Regions from separate parts of the Homo sapiens genome. Here regions 1, 2 and 3 are each linked to region 4. Evidence: promoter capture Hi-C in 16 types of primary human blood cells and fetal thymus (Javierre and others, 2016). All regions are on one chromosome and are shown on one strand. The core of a region is centred on a gene start or on the middle of the fragment in contact, and the rest is flanking DNA. Distances in the headings are between cores, read along the strand shown.

Region 1 (3,070 bases), core at 291-2,790, 310 kb after region 4:
AATACAGGCACCTGCCACCACGCCCGGCTAATTTTTTATTTTTTATTTTTTAGTAGAGACTGGGTTTCACCATGTTAGCCAGGATGGTCTCGATCTGCTGACCTCGTGATCCGCCCACCTCGGCCTCCCAAAGTGCTGGGATTACAGGCGTGAGCCACTGCGCCTGGCCCTATAAGGGGGATAAATCTTAAGGACAAAAATAACTGCAAAGAAATTATAAACAGTATGAAACACTCAATAGAAGCACTGAATTTAGAATAAAGCAAATAAGCAATTTTTCCCATCATTAAGAATCAAGATGTGCACTCAGAGACAAAAGATATATTTTTAAATCCAACAAATTTAAAACTTTGGAAGACTAAATTTGAATTGGAAATAAGAGTAGAAACTCATTTTATTTTCCATTTAAAAGAATTGTCCAGCTCTATCCATTGATAAAGCTTAAAATTCATGAGCATCCCTGGTGCATAGATTATCATTAGACATACCAGTTAAAAGGGGTTAGGGTCCCTTGGTGAAATGGCTGCTTTCAGATTTACAACAACAAATTTAATAAGTGAGCCTGGTTGGGTCTGTACCAGAGTACAAGGAAGGATGCTAAAAAAAACTACTGGTGTCATGTTAACAGACACAAATCCATCTTCAAGGGACTTACACTGACCAGATATGATCATCAGCATTGCAAAGCATTGAAGTACAATCATGAAATAACACATAAGTTTATTACTTTTTTTTAATTAATGGACACTTTAGAAGCTTGCTAGGATACCCACTCATTTTTCTGATAACAGGAAAATAAAATTTGAGCTCTATTTCAGGTAAACAAATAGTTGATGAGGGAAAAGTTGTTTATAGAAGAATTTCAGGTAATAAAAGAAATGCTCAACAAAGCTGCTTAAAACGTTTGATAAAAGGCTGATGTGACATAGTAACAATCAACAGAGGAAAGAAACACCGTATAGAATGGGAGAAGATACTGTAACTACAAACCATACATCTGATAAGGGGTTAATAGCCAAAATGTATAAGAAACTCAAACAGCTCATTAGCAAGAACACACCAATTTAAAAATGGTCAAAGGTCCAGAATAGACAGTTCTCAAAAGACATGCAAATGGCTAACATCACTAATCATCAGGGAAATGCAAATTAAAACCACAATGAGATATCACTGGCTATTATCAAGCAGATGAAAGATTACAAGTGTTGGAGAGGATATGGAGAAAAGGGAATCCTTTGTACACTATCAATAGGAATGTAAATTGCTACAGCCTGTTTTGATTGGCAAAGTCAACTAAAAATATAGAACTGAATCTCTAAACAAAATGTTTTATTTGGGAAAACGTAATTGCAGTTTGGGGCAAACACACAGACCGAGGTGGTCTTTGATATGTCCTAAGAACGTAGAAAGTTGGGGTTTTTAGTAGAAAAAGAAATGTTACATATTATTTAGAAAAAAAACTCACTGGCCCTAAGCAAAATTTTGGGGAGCTGGTAAACTCTGGTGAGTGATGGTGGTAGTTAAATTTAGTCTTACAGTCCCAAGTGCTTTTTTTCCCCTGGTCTCTGGACTCTAGTTGTTTATGACACAGTGACTCCAAATAATCCATTTTCACAAGCCATTGTGGGAAACATTACGGGGGTTCCTCAAAAAATTAAAAATAGAACTACCATATGATCCAGCAAATCCCACTTCTGGGTATGTATCCAAAGGAAATCAGTATATCAAAGAGCGATAACCAAGTTACAGACTCAAGCTGAGTATCCATCAACAGGTGAATGGATAAAGAAAAAATATGTGTGTACACACACAACAAAATGCTATTCAGCCTTAAAGAAATCCTGTCATTTTGACAGCATAGAAGGACCTTAAGGGCATTACGTTAAGTAAAATAGTCCAGGCACAGAGAGACAAGAAGATCTTACTTACATGTGGAATCTTTAAAAAATAAAAAATAAAAAAAAAAAAAACTCACAGAAGCTGAGAATAGAATGGTGGTTGTCAGGGGGGCTAGTGGCTTGAGTGGTGGGGGATGAGGAGATGTTGGTTCAAGGGTACAAAGTTTCAGTTAGGATGAGTAAGTTCTGGAGATCTGTTGTACAGCATGGTGACTAGGAAATAATAATGTATATGGGAAAATTGCTAAGAGATGACATTGTAAGTGTTCTTGCCATAAAATAATTATGTGAAGTGGTGGATATGTTAGTTTAATCATTTCCCAATGTGTACATATGTCAAAACCTCTCATCCACCATGCTATATGCAATTTTTAATTTGTTGGTTATACAATTGTATTCAAATTTGCCCATCAAAACTGAATCTAATCAAGCTTCTAGATCTAATTACCAATTTATAGGACATGGAGGAACATAGACTCACCTACTGTAGTGAGCCAAATCTAGGACTTGGCTAATTCTATAGGAAAAATGCCTCAATTTACTCACCAAATAAATGTCAAGGGAAGTAAAAAAGGAGCCATAGAATAAAAGAGACTAAAAGACATGAATCAAATGGTATGTGTGGAGATCTTATTGGGGTCCTGATTAGAACAGTTGTTTTAGAAAAAGAAATTATGGGCCAAGGGAGAAATTTGAACTTTGAGGAGATACTAGGGAAAATTGCCATCATGGTTTTTGTGTTTTGTTGAATTACATTTTGTTTTGTTTTGTTTTGTTGGAATGGAGTCTCGCTCTGTCGCCCAGGCTGGAGTTCAGTGGCACGATCTCGGCTCACTGCAACCTCCTCCTCCCCGGTTCAAGTGATTCTCCTGCCTCAGCCTCCCCAGTAGCTGGGACTACAGGTGTGCACCACCATGCTCAGCTAATTTTTGTATTTTTAGTAGAGACGGGGTTTCACTATGTTGGCCTGGCTGGTCTCAAACCCCTGTCCTCAGGTAATCTGCACCCCCCCCCCGCCCCCCAGGCCTCCCAAAGTGCTGGGATTACAGATATGAGCCTCTATCCCTGGTGTACATTTTAAGTTTTGTGATCATTTTGGATACACACACTCTTCTAAGAAGTAATGCAGAAAGATCCCAAGTACCCTTTACCTAGTTTCCCCCAATTGTGAC
Region 2 (3,031 bases), core at 425-2,924, 260 kb after region 4:
ATAATCTAATATTCCAAAACATGCTAAAAGAAGTTTATACAAGGTATAAAACAACAATATAAACCAGGATTTAAAAATTCAGAAATGAGTAGCAAGAACTCCCAAGAGAATTAGAAATAAAAGAAAAATGATTTTTAAAGACTAAAGCAAAAGAAATACAAGAGTGATTAAACACAATAGACAATGACTTAAGGGAAAGAAAAGGTAAAAAAGAGAATAGCTTGAAAAATTAAAAAGAAATGGTCAGACGTGGTGGCTCATGCCTATAATCCTCTGGGAGGCCGAGGCGGGTGGATTGCTTGAGCTCAGGAGTTCGAGACCAGCCTGGGCAACAGGGCAAAACCCCAAAACCCCATCTCTACAAAAAATACAAAAAAATTATCCGGGCATGGTAGCACACATCTGCAGTCCCAGCTCCTGGTTGGGGGCTGAGGCAGGAGGATCACTTGAACCCAGGAGGTTGAAGCTGTAGTGAGCCAAGATCATACCACTGCACTACAGCCTGAGTGATGAAGTGAGGCCCTGTCTCAAAAAAATAAATAAAATAAAAAGAAAGGAAAAGAAAGTTTCAAACATAAAAGACAAGTGTAAAAGATCCACCCTACATACAATAGAGTCCTGAAAGAAGGAAATCAAATCAAAGTGAACAAAATAAAAATGTCAACTTCAAGAGAACTGTACTGAAATTTTAAAATACATACACTTGAAACTATATATTGAAAGGATCCATCACATACTGAGAAAACCAATCCAGAACAACTCAGAACACCAATAAATATTCTACTAAAATTACTGTACTTTAAAGAAAGAGAAATATCCTTTGGGTGATCTATGAAAAATAATCACATAAGAAAGATCAGATTTTTTGAGACCAACACCTCAGGCCAGAATAAAATGCAGTAACATATTTAAGATATTCAAAGAAAAATAATGTGAACCAAGGATTTTTCAATAGCTTCACTGAGGTATAATTAACACAGAACAAGTTACACATACTAAAGTTTATAATTTAATAAGCTTTGACATATAATTTTATACCAAAATTATATAAAGATGGTGGATGGCAATGGCATCTTGCCATTGGAAGATGTCACCGAATATTGTTCTCATAGTATCTTGGAGAGAAATCTACTAGAGAACAAGTTTCAGATAAACACTGGAAACATAACAAAAGGACTGGAGGTAAGTGTACGCTTGAAGAAGTAAAACTAAATGAGTGTATAAAGGGAGACACTATAATATACAATGGCTATATGTTCCGACAATTCAGAAACAATACAATTATTTTTAAGTAAGGGGAGAAGGGATTTAGCATATGAAAAACATTTAACTGTTTTTAGTAATTATATTGGTACTGAAAGTATTGAGTTTGTTACTCTGACATTTTTAGATGTGTTCTGTATGGGGTAAAGTAAATGAGTAATTATGTGACATTATAATTCTATTAGTCTCCATGTCCCTGAAAGTCAGGACTATTGATATAGAAAAAGGAGACACAGATGTAAGACAGAAGAGGATAAGTAAAAACCTTATAATCCTTAATATAAACTTTAAGTACTACTATGAAGCCATGAGTTATTTCATCTATCCATATTTTGTTATATATGACATATAAACTTTATATCCTATAACATACATTATATACAAATTTTATCTCTACCTATATATTTTCAATTCTGTCCACCAAAAGGCATAGCAACAATAATGAACCCAATAGCGAAGAGCCTCCCTAGCACCCAGATTTGTCTTGGAATGACACTTCCCACTAAAAAAATCAAGGCTTGTTGGAAAAATGTTGATCCAGGTCTGAGACAGGAAAAGGTTTTAAGATGAACACCAGTTATTCCAGATAATAAGAAAGCCATAAAATCCAACAAGGTTTGTTAAAAAGACCCGAAGAGATTTCCAGTGGCAAAAAATTAAGACCATCTGAACATCAATAAATGCAGAGGATGAAAATATACCAAATATTTTTAAATCCATGAGTTAATAACAATAAAAAAACCTTAATTGATCATTTTTTATTGTGTTTGTATGCAGTGGACCAATTAAGTGACCATTGCCTGCCAGTCACTGTTAGGCCAATGGATAAAAGAAGATGAGAAGTTCTTGCTTACAGTTTTAAGGTAGAGACAGACAGACAAGAGTATGCACTTACTTCTAAGTTGACAATTGCCTGTGCAACAATCGTGAGAACTACTTCCACTCACCAAATGCAATTAGTATGATGCTTTAAAAAATACTTAAATATTCAGAGTGTGGACTGTATGGATCTAAATAAATCAAATACTTTATCTTCCTTTCGGCCTTTTCTTTTGAGATATACAACTATAAGCTTTCTTCCAAATCAAAGGGTAGTGTGTGTGCACACCTGTGTGTGTGGTTGATACCAAGTCATTTTTTGGCTGATCTGATCACTGTGAAATACTGTCAAACACTACTTACGCAAGCAATATTTACTCACAAATATGTAATACAACACGTAGAAAAATTTTGACATTCACCATCAAAGAAAAAATTTTCAAACAAAACAATTGTTTCTAAGATCAAAACTACCTTACTATGTTACAGTTAATGAATATGTATACCTCCAGAGCATTTTAACGGCATGTAAAACATGCATCTATAATAAACTACGATCATATAGTAAAAAATTTACTTTAACATACCCAATGCAGAATCAAAAAGTGTGAAGATTTGAATACAGCCATAAGATCATTTTTAATGTTTAAGCTTAATAGCCCCATTTAAAATAATTGTCATTCCATCTTTTTTTTTTTTTTTTGGCAGATAAAATTGGCTTTTAAAGTCACTTACCAATAAATGGCTCTCCTTCACAAACAAACAAAACATCATCATCCCTGGGGAAATCAAAATTTAAAAAGCTACCATCAAAATCTAAAAATCACATTAATTATCTGTTGCTTATAGGAACTATTCCTTACAATTATATAGACAATAGGTTTTGCTATCAATCTAGACTGCAAAGAAGCTAAGTTTCCAATGCTTTGTTTAACCCCTTGAACTTAAC
Region 3 (3,367 bases), core at 137-2,636, 280 kb after region 4:
TTACTTTGATTTGATTATTACGAATTGCATGCCTGTATCAAAATATTTCATGTACCCCATAAATTATACATCTACTGTATACCCACAGAAATTAAAATAAAAAATGAAACCTGTGACGTGTGTTTCTATGCCAGTATGGACTGTATTACAATTCAGTCCTGAATAAGGTACGTGATCGAATCACGTTCATCTTGCTGGTGGGGTTATTTTTCATTGTTTTTCTTCACCTCTTAGATGGATGCCAATTCAAAAGACAAGCCCCCTGAAACCAAGGAGTCTGCAATGAATAATGCTGGTATGTGATGATCTGCCTCCTTGTGAAGTTGAAGGTTTAGACAGAGAGTTGTCCTCACCCCTACAATATGTCGTCCGTTTCAGGAAATGCCTCTTTCATTTTGGGAACTGGGAAGATTGTGACTCCTCAGAAGCATGCCGAATTACCTCCTAATCCTTGCACACCAGATACTTTTAAATCACCTTTGAACTTTTCCACAGTAACCGTAGAGCAATTGGGAATTACACCTGAAAGCTTTGTTAGGAACTCTGCAGGTAAGAAAAGTTGTCATTCTGTTGTAATGCTTTTCAAGTTTAAAAATAACTTTAATATAACTCAGCTTTATTTGTTTATACGTACTGTCATATTTTAGGTACCTAAATTGCCTACTCTGCAAACTTGCTTCTTCAGAGAGACTTCTTTGCACATGCACAGTTCATTTAGCATAGCAGGGATCACGGAATCGCAGGGCACCCAGCATGATAATGTTCCCAAGTCAGAGTCGTGCTTGATGCCAATACTAGAAAATAATGTGTGTGTGAGTCACTTTTTGACCTGTCACCTAGGATACAGGAGGGTGTATGATATGAATAGTAATAATGCATTTTGTTTTCATTTATGGCAAAAATAAGAGAAAGTTTAAGAGCAATTAAGAAAATATAATACTGAAAGAGCAGGATGTACCTCCTTTAACAATCACAAACAGGGTTGGGCTCAGTGGCTCAAGCCCGTAATCCCAGCGCTTTGGGAGGCCGAGGCAGGCAGATCACCGGAGGTCAGGAGTTCGAGACCAGCCTGACCAACATAGAGAAACCTCGTCTCTACTAAAAATACAAAATTAGCCGGGCATGGTGGTGCATGCCTGTAATCCCAGCTACTCAGGAGTTTGAGGCAGGAGAATCGCTTGAACCTGGGAGGCAGAGGTTACCGTGAGTCGAAATCGCACCATTGCATTCCAGCCTGGGCAACAAGAGTGAAACTCTGTCTCCAAAAAAAAAAAAAAAAAAAAAAACACAAACAGAAGATTGATTCTGGCTAATGTCCTTCGAGCAGTAGAAATGAAGTTTACTTGTGAAGTCTGACTTAGATGGAAAAGAAGGAAATACTATATGAGAATGGAATTGGATCAGAGAATAGCATTTAGAATTGGAGGATAATGGAAGTCTTGAATATCACAGGGCACTAGACCAGGTAATACATAAGACAAGGCGAAAGTGGCACGCCACCCTAACTTTCATTCTCAAAAACATCACTCTTAGACCTTTAAAAGGCTGGATTCATTTTGTGTGCTTAGGCATATGTCCAAAATTCAGGGTAGTGCTGATGGTAGGTATCAGAAAGAAACAATCATCTTGAAGAATTAAGAACCTGAGACTGCATGTACCTAGGTGGAGATCTTACCTTTCAGTTGCTGGGGATAAAACTGACTTATTTAGAAAAAGAAAAATACTGAGTCAAAAGCAAAAGCCATCTGTGTGTAGGAAATAAGAAACAAAAATGAAAACTTAAAATGTGTTCATGTATTTATTCAACAACTTTTAATAACTGTTCTATGTACCAGGCACTGTTCTAGGAGCATAGACTAAGTCAGCAGACAAAAAGATTCCTCTTCCACTGATTGTATATGAATGACTGTGCCAGTAACTCTCCACTGAGTTTTTTGTAGCACATGTTTATCATGTTTTCTCTCTCAGGCTGGTACATCACGAGTATTGGATGTGGTTACTGATGATTGCCTTGTTTTGTTCCAATTTATAAGAGAGTTTCATTACAGGAAAGTCATCATCCTACCTTAAAAAATGTAGACGACGTTCTGCAGTCGGTGCTCGGGGCTCTCCTGAAACAAACCATCTGATTCGTTTCATTGCTCGGCAGCAAAATATAAAGAATGCTAGGAAATCTCCTTTGGCACAAGATTCTCCTTCCCAGGTATGATTTTCTTCTAAGTTCTGTCGTGAATTCCGTTAATGAAGCTTTTGTGCTTTCTTTACACCTTCTAGTGCATCTGCTCTGTTTCAAATCTGGAGGGAGATTTTCTCTGTGTTTTAGAGAACATGCAGTTAGCGGCCGGGCGCGGTGGCTCACGCCTATAATCCCAGTACTCTGGGAGGCTGAGGCAGGCAGATCATTTGAGGTCAGGAGTTCGAGACCAGCCTGGCCAACATGGTGAAACCCCATCTCTACTAAAAATACGAAAATTAGCTGGGTGTGGTGGCAGGTTCCCGAAATTCCAGCTACTTGGAGGCTGAGGCACGAGAATTGCTTGAACCTGGGAGGCAGAGGTTGCATTGAGTCAAGATCATGCCACTATGTTCCAGTCTGGGCGACAGAGTGAGACTGTCTCAAAAAAAAAAAAAATGCAGTTAGCCTAAATGATGATGTTGACCATGGGTGATTTTTCTTTGTTTGCTTTGTTTTAGAGACAGGATCTCAGTTGCCCAGGCTGGAATGCACTGGTGCAATCATAGCCCACCGCAGCAATGAACTCCTGGGCTCAAGGAATCCTCCCACCTTAGCTTTCCAAGTAGCTGGAACTATAGGCATGTGCCACAGCAATGGGCTAATTATAAAAATTTTTTTTTGTAGAGATGGGGCCTCACTATGTTGCCCAGGCTTATTTTGAACTCCTGACCCTAAGCAATCCCTATCAAAGTGCTGGGGTTACAGGTGTGTGCCACAGTGCTCAACCCAAACGAGGGTATTTTTAGAGTTATGAGACCCTGGATAGAAATAGCTTTCTAGAGGAGCTTTTTATTTTATTTCTCAATTTTTTTTTCTAGTTAAGATCTACTTTTCTATGAGGTGAGGCACTACTACCTTTTTAAGAGCTTATCTCTAAGTTACTGATTTTTTCATGACTACTGTGTGTTGATGTATAGGGGCAAGGGTCTCCTGGACAAAATGTATTTGGGACAACCTTGTGGAGAGGAGTAGATTATTTATCTGCTGATGGGGATATATTTAGCTGTTTTTTCAAATTTTTATACATCCCCCTAAAAAGTCAGATACAGTCTTGTGCTACATAATGACATTTTGTTCAGTGATGGACTAAATATACAATGGTGGTCTCATAATAATGGAGCCGAAAAATTT
Region 4 (3,294 bases), core at 41-2,540:
AAGGGGTTTCACCATGTTGGCCAGGCTGGTCTGGAACTCGTGACCTCAGGTGATCCACCCGCCTCGGCCTCCCAAAGTGCTGAGATTACAGGCATGAGCCACCACGCCTGGCCAACTACCTGTCTTTACTATCTTTACTACATGTTTGTCTTCCTTTCTTTTATATTCCTAAAACGCATGAAAACCTTCACAGGCTGCAAGGAGGATATAATTTCTCTCTAGAGGAATCTTCTTCGAAGGTGAACGTAATTAAGCTGGTCATTTACTCTACTTGCAATGTTACTTCTCGGTACAAGGTAGGGAGAAACCCCTGGATCTTCATTCTCCAAGTCTCTCCAGGAAGAAATGAATTCCAAGAGGGGAGCTCCAGAGAGGGCGCCACCTGGAGCCCAAGGCGGTTCAAATGCGCAGCCCCTTTGGGATCTTCGTCAAGAAAAGGCAGTCGTTGACGGAGAAAAGACGGGGATGCGCCTTGGCCCTTTCTCCACGGGAATGCTCTCTGGGCTGCTGGCTGGTTGGGAAAGGGAGGTCTGGGCATGAGGGTCTAAGTTTCTTCAGCTTAAGGTTGGGGGGTCCCCGGAGTTTGGGGATACAGGACTTCCAAATTAGGGCTTTCTAAACAATTTCCCTGCAGAGGATCCCCTAGCAAACGGTCTGATACTTCTGAGGAGCCCACCTCCCTTGCACCAGCTCTCCGGTGATAAAAGTTCTGCTTTCCAGGCTCTAAGCGGTGGCCCCGGGAGATTCAGTCTGCCCTGAGTCCGGCTTCTCCCGCTCGCGGCGCGGGTTCAAGCTCCAGGGGGTGAAGGCAGAAGTCAACTGCTCATTCATTCAACAAATATTTATTGCGCGCCCGCTTAGTGCCAGGCACCGGAGGTGCCCCGAGCAAGAAGCCGCTCTCGCTGATCCGTTTCCGCTCCCCAAGTGTCCGGCGCGCGCCGTGGGAGCGCAGCCCGCATCCCTCGCCCACCGGCCGCCCGGCCTGGGCGTGCCCGGCTCCTCCAGCGCAGCCCTCTGTCGGGAGCCGGACCCCCGGGACCCAGCCTCCGGGGTATCAGCCGGGTGGGGAGGGCGGGAGAAAGGCAAAGTGCCGCCAGCGTCAAAGTCCCGCCGGCCCAGGAAGCCGCTCCAGGGAAGCGCGCGAGGCGGAGCCGCAGTCGGCCCCCGCCCGGCAGAGCGCAGAGAGCGGCGCGGGCGGGAGAGGCCGGGCGCCCGCGGCTCGGAGGCGGCCCCGGCGGGCGGAGGGTGCGGCCGGCGGGAGGGACTGGGGCGGCGCCAGGAGGGGCGCGCACTGCTGCGCTGCAGCCCGGCCCAGCAGGTGACCGCGGGCGGCGCGGGCACGGGCACGGGCGCGGGCGGCGCGGCGAGGAGGCGGCCCGCGGAGTCCAGCGAAGTTTGGCGGAACATGGCGGAAGCGTCTGGGGCACGCAGGAGCGCGGGGCGGCGGCGGCCGGAGCCCGAGGAGCTGTAGCAGCCTTAGTCGCCGCCGCCGCGGGGCGAGGTCGCCGCCATGGCCCGCTGGATCCCGACCAAGAGGCAGAAGTACGGGGTTGGTGAGTGCGCGCCCCACCTTGTCCCGGCCCGACCCACGCGGCCAAGTTCGCGGACAGCGGCCCTGCCAGGTTTGCGCAGAGCCCGGCGGAGGACCCTGGCCGGGGGCTCGGCCCGGCTGCGCAGCTCTGGGAGCCGGGGACGGTAGGAGTCCTCTCCAGGGAGCGCCGATGGGGAAGTCGCCCAGGGTTTGGGGACTCCGAGTGCTTCCAAGTGCAGCTGAGCTTCGGGACCGTAATCCCGCTCTTGCATCCCAATCTCCGGCACTTCACACCAGGGAAATGTCAACGCGAGGGGGGCGCGCCTGCTGCTCTTTTGGGGCCGCAGCTCTGTGGCTCGCCCCGGTGCGCCCAGCGTGGGTTTCACCTGGGAGTAGGTGACCAGCCCGGGTCGGCACATGGACTGGTGCTCATTGTCCCAGTGCTTTCTGCCCCCCGCTTTCGTAGGTTCTTCTCAGACGCCCCTTAAGTGAGGAGTTGAGGGTGGAAAGCCGCCCTGCCCCCTTTCCTCCAGAGACTGGGATCTTGATGACAGTTGTGAGCTGGATGGAAACTAGAGTCGTGGCGTGGAAGTGATGGAAGGGACAGGAAGTTGTGGCACGGGAAGGGGGTGGCTGGCCCCTGGGGCTGTTTGTGCGCACTCATCCCCTAACGGAGCCTGTCTGGAGAGGGTGTAAGGCTGCCTTCCGGATCCTGAGTTTCATCCTGGAGACGAGAAGAGGACATTTTATTAAGGAAACTGTGCCAGACCCCGTGCTGGGCACTTGGCATTCAGAACAGCGGTGCTGGAGAGCCCCGGGTTGTGCGCAGGGGTTGCTGGTGGTGGTGCTTTGGCTCCGAAACAATAGATGTGCGGGGATTTTGACCCAGGTGGAAAGTCAGGCTCCTTTGGCTTTTTATCAAGGATTGAAGTTATTGAGGGCCTGTGGGAAGACTTCTGCCCTGAACGGGGTGATTACAATGGCAGTTAGACCTGGGGTGATTCCCTACAATAAACACGGCTGAGTGTGTTGCGAATTTTATCACTTCCTCTCAGATCCATTCATTTGGCCTGTTTGTAATTTAGTCTTTGACTTTACTCCCTTACTGAGGTCCTGTTTTTCCTCACCTCACTGGTTAATGAAGTGCAGTCTCAATTAAGAGCTACTCAACGTGTCTAGGGGCTTTTCAACTCTGTAGCCAGGAGTCAGGGTTTTTTGTTGTTGTTTGTTTTGTTTTTTAACAGTCTCATATTTACTATATTATTCTTAGGTTGTGATCCTTTATATATTTATTATTTTTTGTTTTCCCTCAATTCAAAAGACATTTTCTTTTTTGCTCTTAAGTTGCTTTTAGAATCTTAGTCTCTCCCTTAGCTGCATCTCAGAAATGGGTAGAGATGTTGCTTCTGCCTCAGGGCTCTTTTTTTTTTTTTTTTTGGTTTGTTTGTTTTTGAGACGGACTGACGAGGGAGTCTCACTCTGTCGCCCAGGCCGGAGTGCAGTGGCGCAATCTCGGCTCACTGCAAGCTCCACCTCTAGGTTCCAGCAATTCTCCTGTCTCAGCCCCCCTCCCCGAGTAGCTGGGATTACGGGCTTGCATCACTACACCTGACTAATTTTTGTATTTTTAGTAGAAACCAGGTTTCGCCATCTGGGCCAGGCTGGTCTCAAACTCCTGACCTCAGGTGATCCGCCTGCCTCGGCCTCCCAAAGTGTTGGGATTACAGTCATGAGCCACCTCACCTGGCCCCTAGATGAAAGCA

What was found. The method cuts DNA at HindIII sites, captures the fragments that hold promoters and counts their contacts. A CHiCAGO score of 5 or more calls a contact.
Region 1: a fragment that was not itself captured here is called in contact with the fragment with the promoter of DOCK5 in region 4 in 1 of 17 cell types (endothelial precursors); the score reaches 6.3 in endothelial precursors.
Region 2: a contact is called between a fragment that was not itself captured here and the fragment with the promoter of DOCK5 in region 4, in 4 of 17 cell types (neutrophils, monocytes, megakaryocytes and 1 more). The highest score is 9.6, in neutrophils.
Region 3: a contact is called between a fragment that was not itself captured here and the fragment with the promoter of DOCK5 in region 4, in 8 of 17 cell types (neutrophils, megakaryocytes, erythroblasts and 5 more). The highest score is 12.1, in neutrophils.

Annotation. Positions count from the first base shown.
Region 1 is chr8:25,495,551-25,498,620 of GRCh38, forward strand. The region is part of intron 13 of CDCA2 (cell division cycle associated 2); the gene reads left to right. Among named protein-coding and RNA genes, the nearest start is that of CDCA2, 38 kb to the left of the region's middle. The HindIII fragment of the contact is 1,573 bases long and covers 755-2,327 here.
Region 2 is chr8:25,441,475-25,444,505 of GRCh38, forward strand. KCTD9 (potassium channel tetramerization domain containing 9) reads right to left here. Exons shown (of 12, transcript NM_017634.4): 3 at 2,818-2,861. Among named protein-coding and RNA genes, the nearest start is that of KCTD9, 15 kb to the right of the region's middle. The HindIII fragment of the contact is 1,318 bases long and covers 1,016-2,333 here.
Region 3 is chr8:25,460,006-25,463,372 of GRCh38, forward strand. It overlaps CDCA2 (cell division cycle associated 2), which reads left to right. Exons shown (of 15, transcript NM_152562.4): 2 at 235-295; 3 at 379-549; 4 at 2,049-2,203. The coding sequence starts at 235. Among named protein-coding and RNA genes, the nearest start is that of CDCA2, 2.5 kb to the left of the region's middle. The HindIII fragment of the contact is 1,718 bases long and covers 528-2,245 here.
Region 4 is chr8:25,183,399-25,186,692 of GRCh38, forward strand. It overlaps DOCK5 (dedicator of cytokinesis 5), which reads left to right and starts at 1,291. Exons shown (of 52, transcript NM_024940.8): 1 at 1,291-1,553. The coding sequence starts at 1,511. LOC124901912 (a long non-coding RNA gene) reads right to left here and starts at 979. Exons shown (of 2, transcript XR_007060861.1): 1 at 1-979. RefSeq lists silencers at 1,109-1,188, 1,199-1,368, 1,539-1,588. The HindIII fragment of the contact is 10,671 bases long and covers 1-3,294 here.